Linked DNA regions of Homo sapiens: region 2 is linked to region 1. Evidence: promoter capture Hi-C in 16 types of primary human blood cells and fetal thymus (Javierre and others, 2016). All regions are on one chromosome and are shown on one strand. The core of a region is centred on a gene start or on the middle of the fragment in contact, and the rest is flanking DNA. Distances in the headings are between cores, read along the strand shown.

The links. Contacts are between HindIII fragments. The CHiCAGO score rates a contact against its expected background, and 5 or more counts as called.
Region 2: the fragment with the promoter of NKX1-2 here is called in contact with the fragment with the promoter of FAM53B-AS1 in region 1 in 6 of 17 cell types (total CD4 T cells, activated CD4 T cells, total B cells and 3 more); the score reaches 6.6 in total CD4 T cells.

The regions. Positions count from the first base shown.
Region 1 is chr10:124,700,012-124,707,298 of GRCh38, forward strand. FAM53B-AS1 (FAM53B antisense RNA 1) reads left to right here and starts at 4,017. Exons shown (of 2, transcript NR_120631.1): 1 at 4,017-4,320. FAM53B (family with sequence similarity 53 member B) reads right to left here. Exons shown (of 5, transcript NM_014661.4): 2 at 6,625-6,876. The coding sequence starts at 6,702. RefSeq lists enhancers at 1-391, 577-726, 5,219-5,810. The HindIII fragment of the contact is 3,544 bases long and covers 2,996-6,539 here.
Region 2 is chr10:124,445,303-124,452,125 of GRCh38, forward strand. It overlaps NKX1-2 (NK1 homeobox 2), which reads right to left and starts at 4,733. Exons shown (of 2, transcript NM_001146340.3): 1 at 4,428-4,733; 2 at 1-2,845. The coding sequence starts at 4,641. The coding sequence ends at 2,127. RefSeq lists enhancers at 1,418-2,285, 5,602-6,157, 6,158-6,714. The HindIII fragment of the contact is 2,053 bases long and covers 3,835-5,887 here.

The DNA of each region.
Region 1 (7,287 bases), core at 2,767-5,266:
ACTGATTTCGTGCTTGACCTCAAGACCAGATCACGGCCCATCTTGCTTTCTGAGCCCCATCCGTGAGGCTAAGCCAGTGGCGGCCAGGCCAGAATGTCATGTACTGACAGCTTTCCAGGGTGCCAGGCCCCAGTGTACCCTGACCGCTGGCAGGTTTCCCTGGTCCAACTCCACATGGGCAAACCAGCAGAGTTCCTGCTTGGCTCTAGGTTGGCCAGGGCCTTTTTTTCCCCAGGCTTCCCAGTATATGCTAACATTCCCACTGGTATTTACCATTCCTATACACACGGCCTTTCCAACACTTTGAACCTCCTGCACCCACAGTGGGAAGAATGAGCCAATCACGGTGTGGAGGCCCCACCAGGCCGAGGGAACCCCTCGGCCCTCTGAGGTTTCACAAGACACTCAGTGTCTGCACTCTGCGAGCACCCGAGCCCTAGCTGAGGTCTGCAGTGAAATAAGACCAGAGCACATTTCCCCTTTGTGCTTCTCCCACCGTGAAGCCTCTGTTCCCGAGCCCACGCCGGGGCAGGGCCTCGTCTCTGTGAGACTCCTCAGATCACGAGAGAAGGTTTTTGGAATTAGATCCTCGTAGGAAAGGCAAAAGCTGGAAATCAAATGGAGGCTTCAGGGCCATCTGTCTGACTAAAGAAAGCAGCCCTGGCTTAAATAAAGACACAATTAAGGCTCCAAATGAGGAACTGGCCCTGCAGAAAATGCCAGGCCACAACCACGGTTCTTGGTAACTTTGCTCTGCACATTATCCACTAAAGAAATCAAATCACCTTTTCCATCTCCTGACACGGTGTTACAGGGAGCCACAGAGCAACAGGGGGAGGCTCGCGCTCATGCCCTGCGGGGGAACGAGTGGAGCACCCACACTTCCGAAATGCAACCCCGCGAGACCGTGGCAGTCGAAAGCAAAAAGGAGATCCAGGCCTGAGACAAGAAAGAGAAGCTGAGGAGGGAACAGCACCTTTGTGTGAAGACTCTCAAAGATGCGGATAGAGATACGCTGGCCCTGACTCCTGAGGCTCTGGGATTAGCCAAAGCATGGGCAGGCCCCTTGGTATCTCTGCCTGCCCAGGGTGAAAGGCATCAGGCTGCCCTGGACCCTGTGCACTCCCACATTCTAACTTCAGGCCAGCCTGGGGCCTGCCAGAGATCCTGGCTGGGGCTGTTGAGCTCAAAGTGCCAACTTAGCATGGCCCGAAGTATGAAGAACCCCAGTGCCCAGGCAACTGGGTGCAAGGCCTGACATGGCCACTAACTCCTCAGGTAAGAAAAGTCATTTAGCCTTGGCATCCTAATCTGACAAGTACAGAAGGAAGTGCTTGTTCTAGCTACCAGATCAGCCCCTCCAAAGGACAAGTATTGGTTGTTACGTGGAAAGTCAGGCAGCCTGGAGCTCCATGCTGCCCTCTGCCCAGGAGCAGCCAGCCACCAGCTCCCTTTGGTCTTCAGCCTTAAGGGAGGATGGGCTGCAGAAAGAAGAGCGGGCCTGGCCAAGGGAGGTGGTCACTCTGGAAACAAAAGAACAGGCCCTTGGCCTGAGTGTGGGCGTGCGGGAAGGAGCTGAGGGAGCACAGTGCTCCAAGGTCAAACGTCTGGGCTGCCTTCCAGGGGAGCAGCTAATGTTAGAACACTGGAAGGAAGAGCCCACTCAGCAGAGGAAGGCACTGGCCAGAGTGGGGGAAAGGGGAACTGGACCCAGCCATGGCTGCCGGCAGTGCAAGCGAAGCCAGGGCCATGGGCACAGCTGAGCCTCAGGGCCATCTCCCCCCAGGCAGGTGGGCCCTGTGCTGGGAAAGGCAAAATGCTGAGCACTGGTCAGTCCTTTTTTTCCCTTTTTCCCACATCTTTCTTTGAGGGAAAGACAGTTGTTTCACCAGCATTTAGTTTTTTAAAACAGGGGAACCAGAACCATGGCATGAACCCCTAAGAAGGCTGGGAGGGAGACCGAGTCCTCACACCCCTCAACAGGCCTCAGAATTGGCCACGAGCTCCTCCTCCAGTGCCACATGACACCCAGGGTTGCGAGGACCCTGGTGACTTTCCCTTGCACATTGAGACTTTCCCGCTCTGTGACTAAGGCCTGACTCTGGGGACCCAGGGTGAGCTGCGCCTCTGGGGCCTGCTCCCATAATTCCAAAGTGGCCTATGCTGATACCAGTCCCGGCCTCCCCCACAGTCATGCTTTCCTTTAAAATCTTAAACCTCCACTTGTTATCTTCTTAGTCTGATTAGAAAACAAAAGAAAAATTATTTTCCATCGTTCCTGTTGTTATCTTGATGGTATTTACACGGGGATGATGTTACCAGTTTAGGAAGCTAAAGCAAAACCCCGTCAACTTCCTCTGAACCTTTGCTGGCTGTTCAAAGCAAATGCTAGCATCAGCTTATCTCACATTCTGTCCCGTGGATGTCATCACTAGACTAAGATTATTTTCAGTATTTCTTCAGTTATTTACATCGTGTGTCTCTCCCCAAGGCCTGGAGGGGCTCCAAGGCGATCACAGCCTCTGGAACAGGGCCCATGCGAGAAGGTGCTGGGGGAAGCAGACAAGGGCCTGGACTTGAAATCTGTGACCAGGGCAGCCCCTCCCTGGGCTCTCTGAGCCACAGTTTCCTTCCTGTATAATGGGGTAGAAATGGGTGCACCCCTGCCCCTCAGCAGGTGGCATGAGGCTCAAGGACAGGGAGGAGGTACCTGGACCTCTGGGCATACAGTTTGGATGTTCGTCCCCTCCAAATCTCATGTTGAAATGTAACCCCCAATGCTGGAGGCGGGGCCTGGTGGGGGGTGTTTGGGTCATGGGAGCGGATCCCTCATGAATGGCTTGGTGGCCTCCCCATGGTGATCAGGGAGTCCTCGCTCTTCTAGTTCATGTGAGGGCTGGTAGTTTAACAGGTCTGGCACCTCCTCCCTTCCCTCTTGCTCCCTCTCTCACCTCGTGACACACTTATTCTCCCCTCACCTTCTGCCATGACTGGAAGCTTCGTGAGGCCTTACTAGAAACAGATGCAGGTGCCATACTTTTTTTTTTGGAGACACAGTCTCACTCTGTCGCCCAGGCTGGAGTGCGGTAGTGCTGTGATATCGGCTCACTGCAAGCTCCGCCTCCCAGGTTCGAGCCATTCTCCTGCCTCAGCCTCCCAAGTAGCTGGGACTACAGGCGCCCGCCTGCCACCACACTCAGCTAATTTTTTGTATTTTTAGCAGAGACGGGGCTTCACCATATTAGCCAGGATGGTCTTGATCTCCTGACCTCGTGATCCGCCCTCTTCAGCCTCCCAAAGTGCTGGGATTACCGGCGTGAGCCACCATGCCTGGCCGGTGCCATACTTCTTATACAGCCTGCAGAACCATAAGCCAAGTAAATCTCTTTTCTTTATAAATTACCCAGCCTCAGGTATTCCTCATAGCAACATGATATGAACTAACACACTTCCCAAGACCCTCAGTGTAGCTGCACCTCCAACACCTTCCTGCTGGCCCACGCTATAGCGCAGGCAGCGCTGAGCCAGGCCGGGCCAGGCACTGACGCCCAGTCAATGTGTTCTGGGCGCATAAGCAAACTGAGCAATGAGAAAGCCCATCTCCAACAGGGCTGCTCCCCACAACAGACCTCTCATCTGGAGCCAAGGGGAGAGAAGAGGAGGAGGAAGACCACAGATGGACCCAAAGCACTGCACACTGGGTGGTTCTGGGCCCGGACAGGCCAGTAACAAAAAGCAGCAGAAAGAAGGATACTTTCCAACAAAGCAAGGAGAGTTCAGGAAGAAAGCACAGATTCTAATCTGTGTGGCCACAAGAGAACACATGGTAGAATCCCTTCCAGCAAAGCCGCCTGCTCTCCCCTGACTGCTTTCCCTTTCTGAGATGAGTTTTCCTTCCCTGGCCAGGGCTGGGAGGCCGTGCTCCTCCTGGCAGGGGCTCAGGCCACACCTCTTGGAAGAGCAGCTCAGCTGACCTTGGGCCCACATGTCCTGGAACCAACTCTGAAGCCAACACCAGGCAGTCCCACCCTGAGAAGGGACCAAGCACAGAGGCGGCCACTGCAGCCAACTGCACAGCTGGACCCGGGTAGGGCTCCTCCCTCGGGACCTCCAGATGGCTCCTCACCCTTGAGGTCCCTTCTTTTTGGTCAGAGCTACTCTAGTCGCACCCACTCAGTCGTGAACTGGAGCAGCAGCCAGAGAGAGAGTAAGACAATGGTGAATGAGAAGAGGCCAGGTGACAGGAACCTGCAAGCTCATCCATCCACAAACATCCACTGAGCACCTGCCACGGGCTGGGCCCCGTGCATTCAACAACAAGTAAGAGAGACATCCTCTGCTTTCTCAAAGCTCCCATTCTAGTATAAGGACTCGGTCAAGATCCACAGGGACATGTTTAAAAGTGCTAAGTGCCCAAGAGGGAAAAAGGAAAAGAGGAGAGAAAGTGTGGTGGGGGTAAGGGGTGGGCGCTGGCGCTGGGACTGAACTGTAGGTTGAGTAGCCAGAGAAGGAAGGAGGGAGGGAGTATGTCCTACTGTGGGGAGAGGGCTCCAGGCCAAGGAAAAAGTGCAAAGGCCTGAGGCAGGCTCACGCTTGGCATATTGGAATAGGGAGGCCAGTGGGGACCGAGCAGAGGGGGCAGAGTGGCAGAGATGAGGTCAAAGCAGTCACATGGACAAGAATATATGGGGCCATGTACATCCTAGTAAGGGCTGGGTGTTTGCTAAGCATTCAGTGTAAAGCCAGTGGAAGCTGCTACACAGAGAAGGACAGCTCTGACTGGGATTCTCTCTGGCTGCTGGGTGGAGAACAGGTTAAAAAGAGCCAGAGGCAGGGGACCAGTTACCACAAGAATCCTTGCGAGAGAACAGCAGGTGGAACCAGGGTGGTGGCAGCGGGGCTGGTGAGAAGTAATCACATCACACAGCAAATGTGAACTGGAAAGGATGGGGTGGTAGCAGAAGAGCTGAATGGTCACAGCAGCTCTACTCCTCGCTGCAGTGACCAAGGCTGCCATCGAGCAAACACACCTCAGGTGCCTGCTGTCTGCCCTGCCTCAGTAGTGCTGGGGACATGGGGAGGAGCAAAGCTGAGTCCCTATCCTTGCAGCTGGGGGTGACACCCCATGGAGACCTCACAGGCTGAGGCCCATGAGCAGAGTGGCACCAGTGTCACATCTGGTAAGGGCTGAAGAGACCTGACTGAGGGAGGGCCACCAAGACTGGCGTCCAGACACCAGGCAACAGGCAGAGGCCTGAATGCAGGCCCAGGAAGTGGGGCTAGAGGGGCAGGAGGGAAGGCGGAGGCGGAGCCAGTGAGGCAGTTACTGCCTGCTCCAGGTTGCAGCTGCCTCATTTGTAAAACAAGGAGGCTGGACCCAACGGTTTCTAAGCCACTTCTTCTCACCCTTCAAGGCCAAATCAAGTATCCCTGCTCCGCAAGGCTTTCCCTGGCGTGCTACAGCCAGGCTGGCCCTGCTCCTCTACAAGCCCTGGGCTTCCCATGGGCTTCAGCTGCGAGTTCTTAGTCATGGGATCCTCAAGTGTCACTGTATTCACAGCTCTCCAGACACCCTCCCTCTAGACCACGAGCTTCTCAAGGGTGAGGAGTACAGGGCCTGGCTCCAGCTCATCCTGTTCCCTGAACTCCTCCAGCCTGGTGCCCAACACACGGAAGGCGCTCTGTGAGGCCTGCGGAAAGAATACAGATCTCGGTGGCTTTCCCAAGCTCCTGCCACAGCCAGAGACCTAGGTCTATCTGCTCAAGGTCTGGTTTCACTGGCATGAGCTAGGGGAAGGGGCCCACCAAGGAGGCTTGGCGTGGGTCCTCACGAGGAGCCGTGAAGGGCGCCAGGAGGGGTCCTGGGCAAGGTGACCCTGGGCAGTTGGCCCCTTCCTGATCACGGAAGCTGCAGAGAGTTCTGAGGACTTGCCCATCTCCACAAGACTGCTTATGACTGAGTGTGGCTTCTCGCTCCCTCCACAGGGGAGCAGCCTGCACTCACATCTGAGGAACTGGGCTTGGAAGGACAGGTCTGCTGACAGGGTTCAGCTACTGGAGGTTGTTTTGCTCGTAGTCTAAGAAGGCCGAGTTAGCTACCTCTCTGCGCTAGTCCACCAAGTGGTCCAGGGTGGTCCAGGGTGAACCACCTTTGGCAGAGGGTGGCTGTTGCCATAGCTCACCACACCTTCTTTCCCCATCATCTCCCACTCTCGACGTTCCTGAGGCAGCACCACCCTTCAGAGGGACAGGCTTATCTGGGCCTCCATTCAGGGCACCAACCCCCTCTGGAAACCACCCCCCCTTAATGGGTGGAGACAGAAGGAATGTCAATCCTGGCTTGGCAGGCGGCAGAATCACACTTGCTGTTATTTACCAGGGGATGGCCTCCCCTCCTCATTCACCAGATGACCTCAAATCTGAGCTGAGTTCCTTCCTTCCAGCAAGTTCTCAGTCAAGCTCTGCTCCTGTGCCCTGTTGCCCCAGCCCGGGACGCCTCACAGAGCTTTGCTCTTGGGGACTCTGGACTCGATTTGCTAAGCTTAGGTGCTCAGTCCACAGCCCTGTCTGTACATCAGGCCTCAGAAATGGTCATGGAAAGCAGGAAGCCTGCCAGGTCCTCACCAGTTCACGGCTGAAGGTCCCACATGCAATGGAGTCAGCTCCCCGGGTGCTGAGGCTTTCACTTAGGACCATCACCATGATAAGGGCCTCAGGCGCTGGGCTCCATCCCAGGGTGGGTATCAGCCATCTTCACTTGGGCAGACTTGGGGTGAGTACCTCCTGGGGAATTGATGTCAGCAGAAACAGCTCCCCATTGGCCACTCACCCTTGGGGTGGGGCCCTTCTGGGAAATGGCCAAATGTGGTCAACTCCCTGGAAAGACAAAAGAAAAGCAAAAAGATTCAGGACTAAGAAAGACGAGGGCCCTGAGAGTCACCCCTCCCACAGTACTGGAAATCCCAGGGGACTGGAACCACCTCTCTGCTAAAGGAGATGCACTCTGGGAGAGTCACCAAGGCCCAGAGTTACCTTCTCAGAGTCCCCCCGCCCACCCCTGCCATGCCAGCCTTGGGCTGCCTCACTTGTAAAATGGCCTGGTGGATAGAACAACAAATTGGGGTCCAGCCGCATGATACCTTTAAGATCTATCTCAGGGTCTGGGTGGCTAACAATCTGCTGTCCCTGCAGCATACTCAAGTCATGTGACATCTTACCACTAAGCTGGCTCTACAGGCAGCTTCAGCACACACCAGGATACATTAAAGTAGGCCAAGGGTCAGAACA
Region 2 (6,823 bases), core at 3,483-5,982, 250 kb before region 1:
TGGAAAGCCACTGGGCCTTTTAAAGCAGCAGAAGTCCAAAGTCACACGCTTCAAGCATTACTCTGCAATGATCTGTGGAAACCAGAAGGGTCAGGAATTACAGCACCGTGCTGGGCCACGAACAGATCAGCCTCCCACCTCTCTCCCTATTCCCTCTCTTCTACTGAAGTCCATGATTCTGGTACCTGAGAAGACTGGAATGAAATGTTTCCCATTTATTACAGAATTCAGCTTCTTTGTTACAGAGGAATTGTCACATTTGAATTGTCTGTTTAATATGGGATATTGCTTTTGAGAAACCAACAAATAGTTATTAAAGGAGTGTTTACCGAAGTGTAAGGTGAATATTATCTAGTAGAGTAACTGCATTTTTAATCTCATCTGGCACCAACTGTCTTTTAGAAAGTTACAATGTGTTGTTTGGGGGACATTCTTCTTTAGAAGGAAAAGAGTCTAATTAGTGGATATTAAGTAATTAAATAATACATACTATCAAATATTATGAGAGTCACATGAACCATGAAGTCTTCACTTAATTTAGGAGAAATGGGGAATATTTTCTATCATTCCTGATAACAGAACTAGATATTTCAAGATCATAGTCATGGAATGTAATCCATAATACCAAACAGGGTGCTTTACTTTGAAGCCATTGACCATTAAATTTGATTGTTAGTAGCACAGGCTACCAAAAAATAGCAAGGAATATGGTATCCACACAGATCTCGGCTGGCCTCAAGTAATCAAAAGTGAGAATGAAACATACATGACACAACTGGGGACCTCTGGGTTTCTGAGACGTGGGCTACAAGATTATATTAGGTAGAAAACTAAAGGAAATGTATTCCAAGCAAAAGTGGCAAGGGAATTTCACAGAACTAATTTTTTAAGGGAGGTAATAAAAGCAGCAGTTAAAATGCATGTCCATGTATCAGATTCCTGGAGGTGAATCCATTAGGAATATGACGGCTCTTCACACCCAAGTATTGCTTTCATGGGCCCTTACAATCTCTGCTTGTTCACCACCATAAAGAGTCTGTTTGTAACAAGAATTGTTTTCAAGTCAGAATCCTAGACGAAGATCTAAAAATGTTGAGTTTGTGCTTTTAAAAAACAGTCCAGTCCAACTGTCCACATGTAGTGTGTGCTGATGGAGCTAGCTCTTCCCCATCCTGGCTCACTATTGGGAGCCCAGGAATCCCTGGGACAGGCAGATAAGCCAGGACTGAAGTTTTAAAGTATCAACTACTGCAAATCAAAGTAGGCAGCCTCATGCATAGACTTCATGATATTAGTTGAGCCATCGCTGCCTTCATTATCATTTTTATGCCTTTGGGGTCACTGTGTGGTTTGGTCCAGGCTGTTCTCAAAACCTGCAGTGCAACAGACCCGTGTCTACTTTAGCAGGTGAGTCTAGCTGCAAATCAGTCACCTTTCCTACCACAAACTTCTGGCCTACTCCAAAAACCAAGGTACCCCCTCTCTCAGGAATAGCCTGGGGAGGTTATTTGGAACAAGTATTGTGTTCCAGTCCGAATCTTAAGTAAAGATCTAGAAATGTGGAGTTTTATGCATTTTAAAAATAGTCCGTTTCAGAGCGGCCGTCTGTGCTCCAGGACCAAGCTCTCCCCAGCCTCGTTCAGGATTTGGAAGAACTCTCTGGGTTTGGGCTGAACCATCGAGCACGAGGAGGGGAAGCTGTCAGTTGTGAACAGAGACTGTTTCTCACCCTCTGATGAGCCAGCACCTTTAAAGGTTCCATCCTAGCCGCCAGCAGCTGGCAGCCAGGGCGTCTCTGCTCCCTGTATTTCCCTCCTGGCATCTTGGTTAGCCCCGCGCCGAACACCCAGACCCTCAAAAACTAGCCCCTGAACTGAATTAAACCTGACCCAAAGTGAACAGCAAGGTCCAGAAACGGCAAGGCTTGAGGTCAGCCTCCGTCCCCGGACACTTTGAAGGACGGCAGATCCCTGACCCCTTGGTGGCCCGCGAGGATCGCGGGTGCGCGCGGCGGGCAGGGGTGCGCTGACACCCGCGCACCTGCACCCCCGGTGGAGGAGCCGAGGGCACACGACGATGCCAATCCCTCGTGAATCCCGCGAAAGAGGGGCCAGGGGGCTCCGGATTCATAGACGCGGGGCGTAGAAGGGGGTCAGGTAGGAAGGCCCAAGGAACGGCGCGAAAGGGCTCCCGGGGGCGGCAGCCGTCAGCGGGAAGGAGGCGGCGGACGGGAAGAGGACATTGGCCGCGGAGTAGGAGGGGAAAGTCTGGAAGTGCAGAGCGCCGGTGCCGGGAGGGCCAGGACTGCCCCCCGAGCCGCCGCCGCCGCCGCCCCCCGCCGCCCCTGGCTGGGGCGCGCCACCCCCCACCTGCGCCGCGCCGTCGGCACCCGGGTTCTGCTTCTTCCACTTGGTCCTGCGATTCTGGAACCAGATTTTGACCTGCGTCTCGGTGAGGCTGAGAGACAGCGCGAGGTTCAGGCGCTCGCACACTGACAGGTAGCGCGTGGCCCGGAACTTGTTCTCCAAGGCCACCAGCTGCTCGTAGGTGAAGGCGGTGCGCGCGCGCCGCGGCTTGGCGCAGTTGGGCTCCAGGCGCCGGCGCCTGGGACGCGGGGAGCCGGGGGATCCCGGGGGGGACCTCACAGGGCCGCCCCCGCCGTCCTCGCAGGGCTCCCCAGACGCCAATGCCCCGGCCGGGGCGTCAGGTGAGCGCGCTAGGCCCGGCAGCAAGCGCGCAGCCCGCTCCCGCAGCCGCGGCCTCCTCGGATCCTCCGCATCCTCCTCCTCTTCCGCCTCGGAACCCTCCAGGGGGGACGCCTGGCCGGCGCCTGGGCCCGCAGCATCTAGGGGAGAAGGGGTCGGTGAACAGAAGCCTCTCCAGGTCCCCAAACCTCGTCCTCGTCCTCCCTAGAGCAAGCAGCTGTCCCCCCAACCCAACTCTGGGTGCTGCTCCTGTCCCCACATCGCGCTCCCCTTAGGCCGGACTACACATCCTCGCCAGCGGGTTTAGGGGAATGGTGTCCTCTTGCCCTTTACAAATCTGCCATCAAGTAGGCGTCCAAGAAATGTACGCCAAATGAATGAATGACACCCCGCATTAAGAAAAAATAGTGACATTATTGGGTAACCATACTGGGGGGTAGGATCATTGTATTAAGACATCTAGATGTCAAACGCTTTTAGGGCTGTGCCTTCCCCAGACCCTAGAAGCCTATTTTGATCTAGGACTCCCAGCAATTAAAAAAGAAGTTATTAAGCTCTCTGCCCCACCCCACCCCCGCCCCCGCTTTAAAGTGAAATTCCCTTTCCCATCTTCTCTCTCCCGCCGTGTTAATAGAGTTTCAGATTTGTGCGGGGCCGGATCGATAGATGTCATCTATTAAAGGTAAGTTTTAATCGAACAATATTAGGATCAGACAGGGAAAGGGGGTTTGAAGTCGGTACCTGCAAGCTGCGGGCAGGAGATATGCAGGCGCCAGTAATAGAATATCGATCACGAGGGTGGGGGAAGGGAGGGCGGCCCCTCGGAGAGAAGATCCGAACAATTACCAGGCCGCCTGCCTGGGCCCAAGTGCGGCCGCCAGAGGCGCCCCGGGCCCCAGGCAATCACCGCCAAACTTGGGGAGGGGAGCAGGGGGCTGCGCGGCATCCAGCCTCCCCCGATGACCTGAGCCTCTGACCCTCCAGGGAGCCGCCTTTCCCTGTCTGATCCCAGCAGGACTCCTGCTGTCTTCCGTCCTTCCTTCCAGCCACAAACTTTCCTAACCCCTTCATCAGGTGTCCGCCAGCGTTGGGAGTAATTCAGAAAGGGTTTCGAGAAGAAAGTACCGAAAGCTTCCCAACACTCCATCCGAGCCCCGCCCCCAGCCCAGTCCCAGTTAACAGTTGAGTCTGGGGAGCTTGAGCGCCTGGGGCAGCCCAGCCCCGCAGGCGTCTCCGGGTGGCACCTGACCTCGCTACTCACGAAGACCCCCGGCGCAAGCCTTAGCGTCAGCTCCCCCATCCATAAAATGGAGGTGATGTTAATGATGCTGTCCATCTCTCAGGTTCCGAAGTTTTCATCACCTTTATCCCAGCCCTTAGCCCAGGTCCTAGCACGTGGCAAGCGCATTAAATGCCCGATAAATGAGTAAGCCTGGCAAGACAGGCGCCAGGTAAGTTTCCACCGCGAGCATCAGAACTGTGGTGCGGGTGAGCTTGGCGGGTGAGCAGGGATGCGGCAAATCCCTGCCCTGTAATGCGGGGAGCCTCCTCTCTGCCTCTATCCAAGTCCGAGGCGGGGGCTACACTTCGCACCCGGTCCCGTGCGCCTTCTCTCTGAGGAAGACGCTGTTAAGGGCCACTCACCGGGCCCGGCTGTTCCCCCATACACTCCGCATTGTTGGGGCTGAGGCCTCCTGGGGCCGGGGCCGCCTTGCATCTTACCAGGGGTCTCCAGCTGTCGGACAGGGTCCCTGGAGCTGGCATCTTTCCCCGCTTCGACCTCCGCCAAACTTTTCCTGGCTTCCCGGGGAGCCGGGCGCACGGCAGGGAGCGCTGCGCGGGTGAATTTCTGTGGGTCCAGGATGTCCAGGACAGAGAAAGAAATCTTGTGGTGGGAGGGAGCCGCCTTGGCCCCGCCGTCCTGCCATGCCAGCATGCCCGTCGCCCACGGGCCGGCGGTCGGCGGCGCGGGGTTGGGGATGGCGCCGCTCGGGCTTGCCTTCGGCTGTGGCTTGGCGGTAGCTTTCCAGCCAGGAGCCGGGTCCGCGCTGCCAAGTGAAGCTGGGGAGGGGGGCGGGGAGGCGGGGCGGGGAGAGCGCCGCGGGGGGCTGCGCGCCGATTGGCACCGGCGCAGCCCGGGCCAGCCTCGGGACTATCAGGCGCTGTGCCGCGGCCGCTTGCCTGGGCTCGGGGAAGCCTCCGCGCGCCCGGTGCGCGCGACCGCGGGGACAGTGTTGTCGTCTCCGCGCGCCTCCGCCCAACCCTCTGGGACTCTCCGAGGGCGCGAGGGAGGCTTCCATCCCGGGGATCCCTCACCCCGACACACACACCTCTGTGACTTGAGTTTGTTCCCTTTCTCCGGTGCACCCGCCTTAGACTTGGGGATGCAACTGAGGCCAGGACTGCTTACTCCCAGGCAATGCTCAGCGCATCTCCTTCCCCGCCAGTGAATTACTGTAATAGCTTCAGACCCGGTTACCTCGGAGGTAAAATCCCTCACGTTCTCACAGTTTAGCGTTCACAAAGCCCTGAGGCTTGCACGATCTCTTTTGATTATTTGAGCATCCCTGTGAGATGGGCGTCACGTGGCACAGACCACTGTCCCCGTTTTAAAGATGAGGAAATCGAGGTTCAAAGGTAAGAAAAGATTTCCCCAGGGTCACTGTGAGTTGGTGACAGAGTCTGGGTTTGGACCTCGGTCTTCTACTGGACCAGTCAGTGCTTTTTTAGTACATCCTGCTGTCTCAGAAACGGAGGGAGAAAATCCCGGACTCTCAGTCTTTTGCTTCCACTCCAAAGCCAAGCCAGAGGCCAGCAAGAGGTTTGGAGAGGTGGTGAGCCCCCACCGGGATTCCAGCCGCTTTGGAAACCTTGGTGGCTTCAGGCACAGAGCCAAGTGAGATGGCTGAGGGTGTCTGCCCTGGTTTGCTGTGACCCGGAGCACAGCCCTCAATGGACAAACGTCAGGCCTTCTCCAGAGTCACAAATTCGATCATTTGCAACAGAAATTGGATCTGAGAATTAGGTTGCATCTCTGACCCCCATTCCCTCTCAGCCCCAGAAGCAGAAGATTCAGAAATGCCTGTCTGGTTTGAATTTAAGGTCCGAGAAGAGAGACAGTTGAAATGGCCCTCATCTGCCCCACCAAGTCCCCTGGGAAAGTGATCACCAGTGGTCGGAGAAGCTTCCACTGGCCACACCAATCCTGAATTTCTTCTTTTGTCTCTTGGAAAGCACACAGCAGTCTGTGAGCACTAAGCATTTGTTTCAGGCAAATTCTGAGGCTTCTCCTAGTGTTTGGCCCAGAACCACCTCTGACTCTGCCGTTCCTTTCTTCTCCGCCCCATAGGGTTTCCAAACAATGACTTGGCAATTAATATTGTCTGAGCAGGTAAGGAGTAGGAAGAGGAGGAGAAACCTTCTCATTAAAGTGCTGGGGGCTGCTAATCCCATCTGTTATTGAAGAGGCATCCTTAGAAGCCAGCTCCTTGTAGCTTTTCTCATTCAAACCTTGCTGCCCCTCCCAGAGGTGGTCACTGTATTCCCTGCGGACTTTAAAGCCTGCGGAAATCAAGCCAGCTCCAGTCCTAAAGTGAAGACGGATTGTGCTTTTAAAGCTCAGGAAAGGAAGTGCCCTTCCCAAGTCCACTGGACCACCTCCCATCGAAGGGAATGTGAAAATCCCAAAGAAAAGATGGCCCTGAAACTAAAAAGTGGCGCCCGACAACCTGGACTGCAAATCACAGAGCCTTCCTGAAATACAGATGGGGTACTTTGTTTTCTGTTTTGATAATGCTTTCTCACCCAGTTCTCGATTTTTTTTTCTAATCTTCCTTTTTGTTTCTCCCCCTTCACCCTTTTGATCCTAGCCGCCCCTTCTACATTTTCCCACCATGTTTACTTTTTTTTTTTTTGAGACAGAGTCTCTCTGTCACCCAGGCTGGAGTGCAGTGGCGCGATCTTGGCTCACTGTGCAACCTCTGCCTCCTGGGTTCAAGCAATTCTCCTGCCTCAGCCTCCCAAGTAGCTGGGATTATAGGTGCGCGCCACTGTGCCCGGCTAATTTTTGTATTATTAGTAGATACAGGTTTTCACCATGTTGGCCAGGCTGGTCTCAA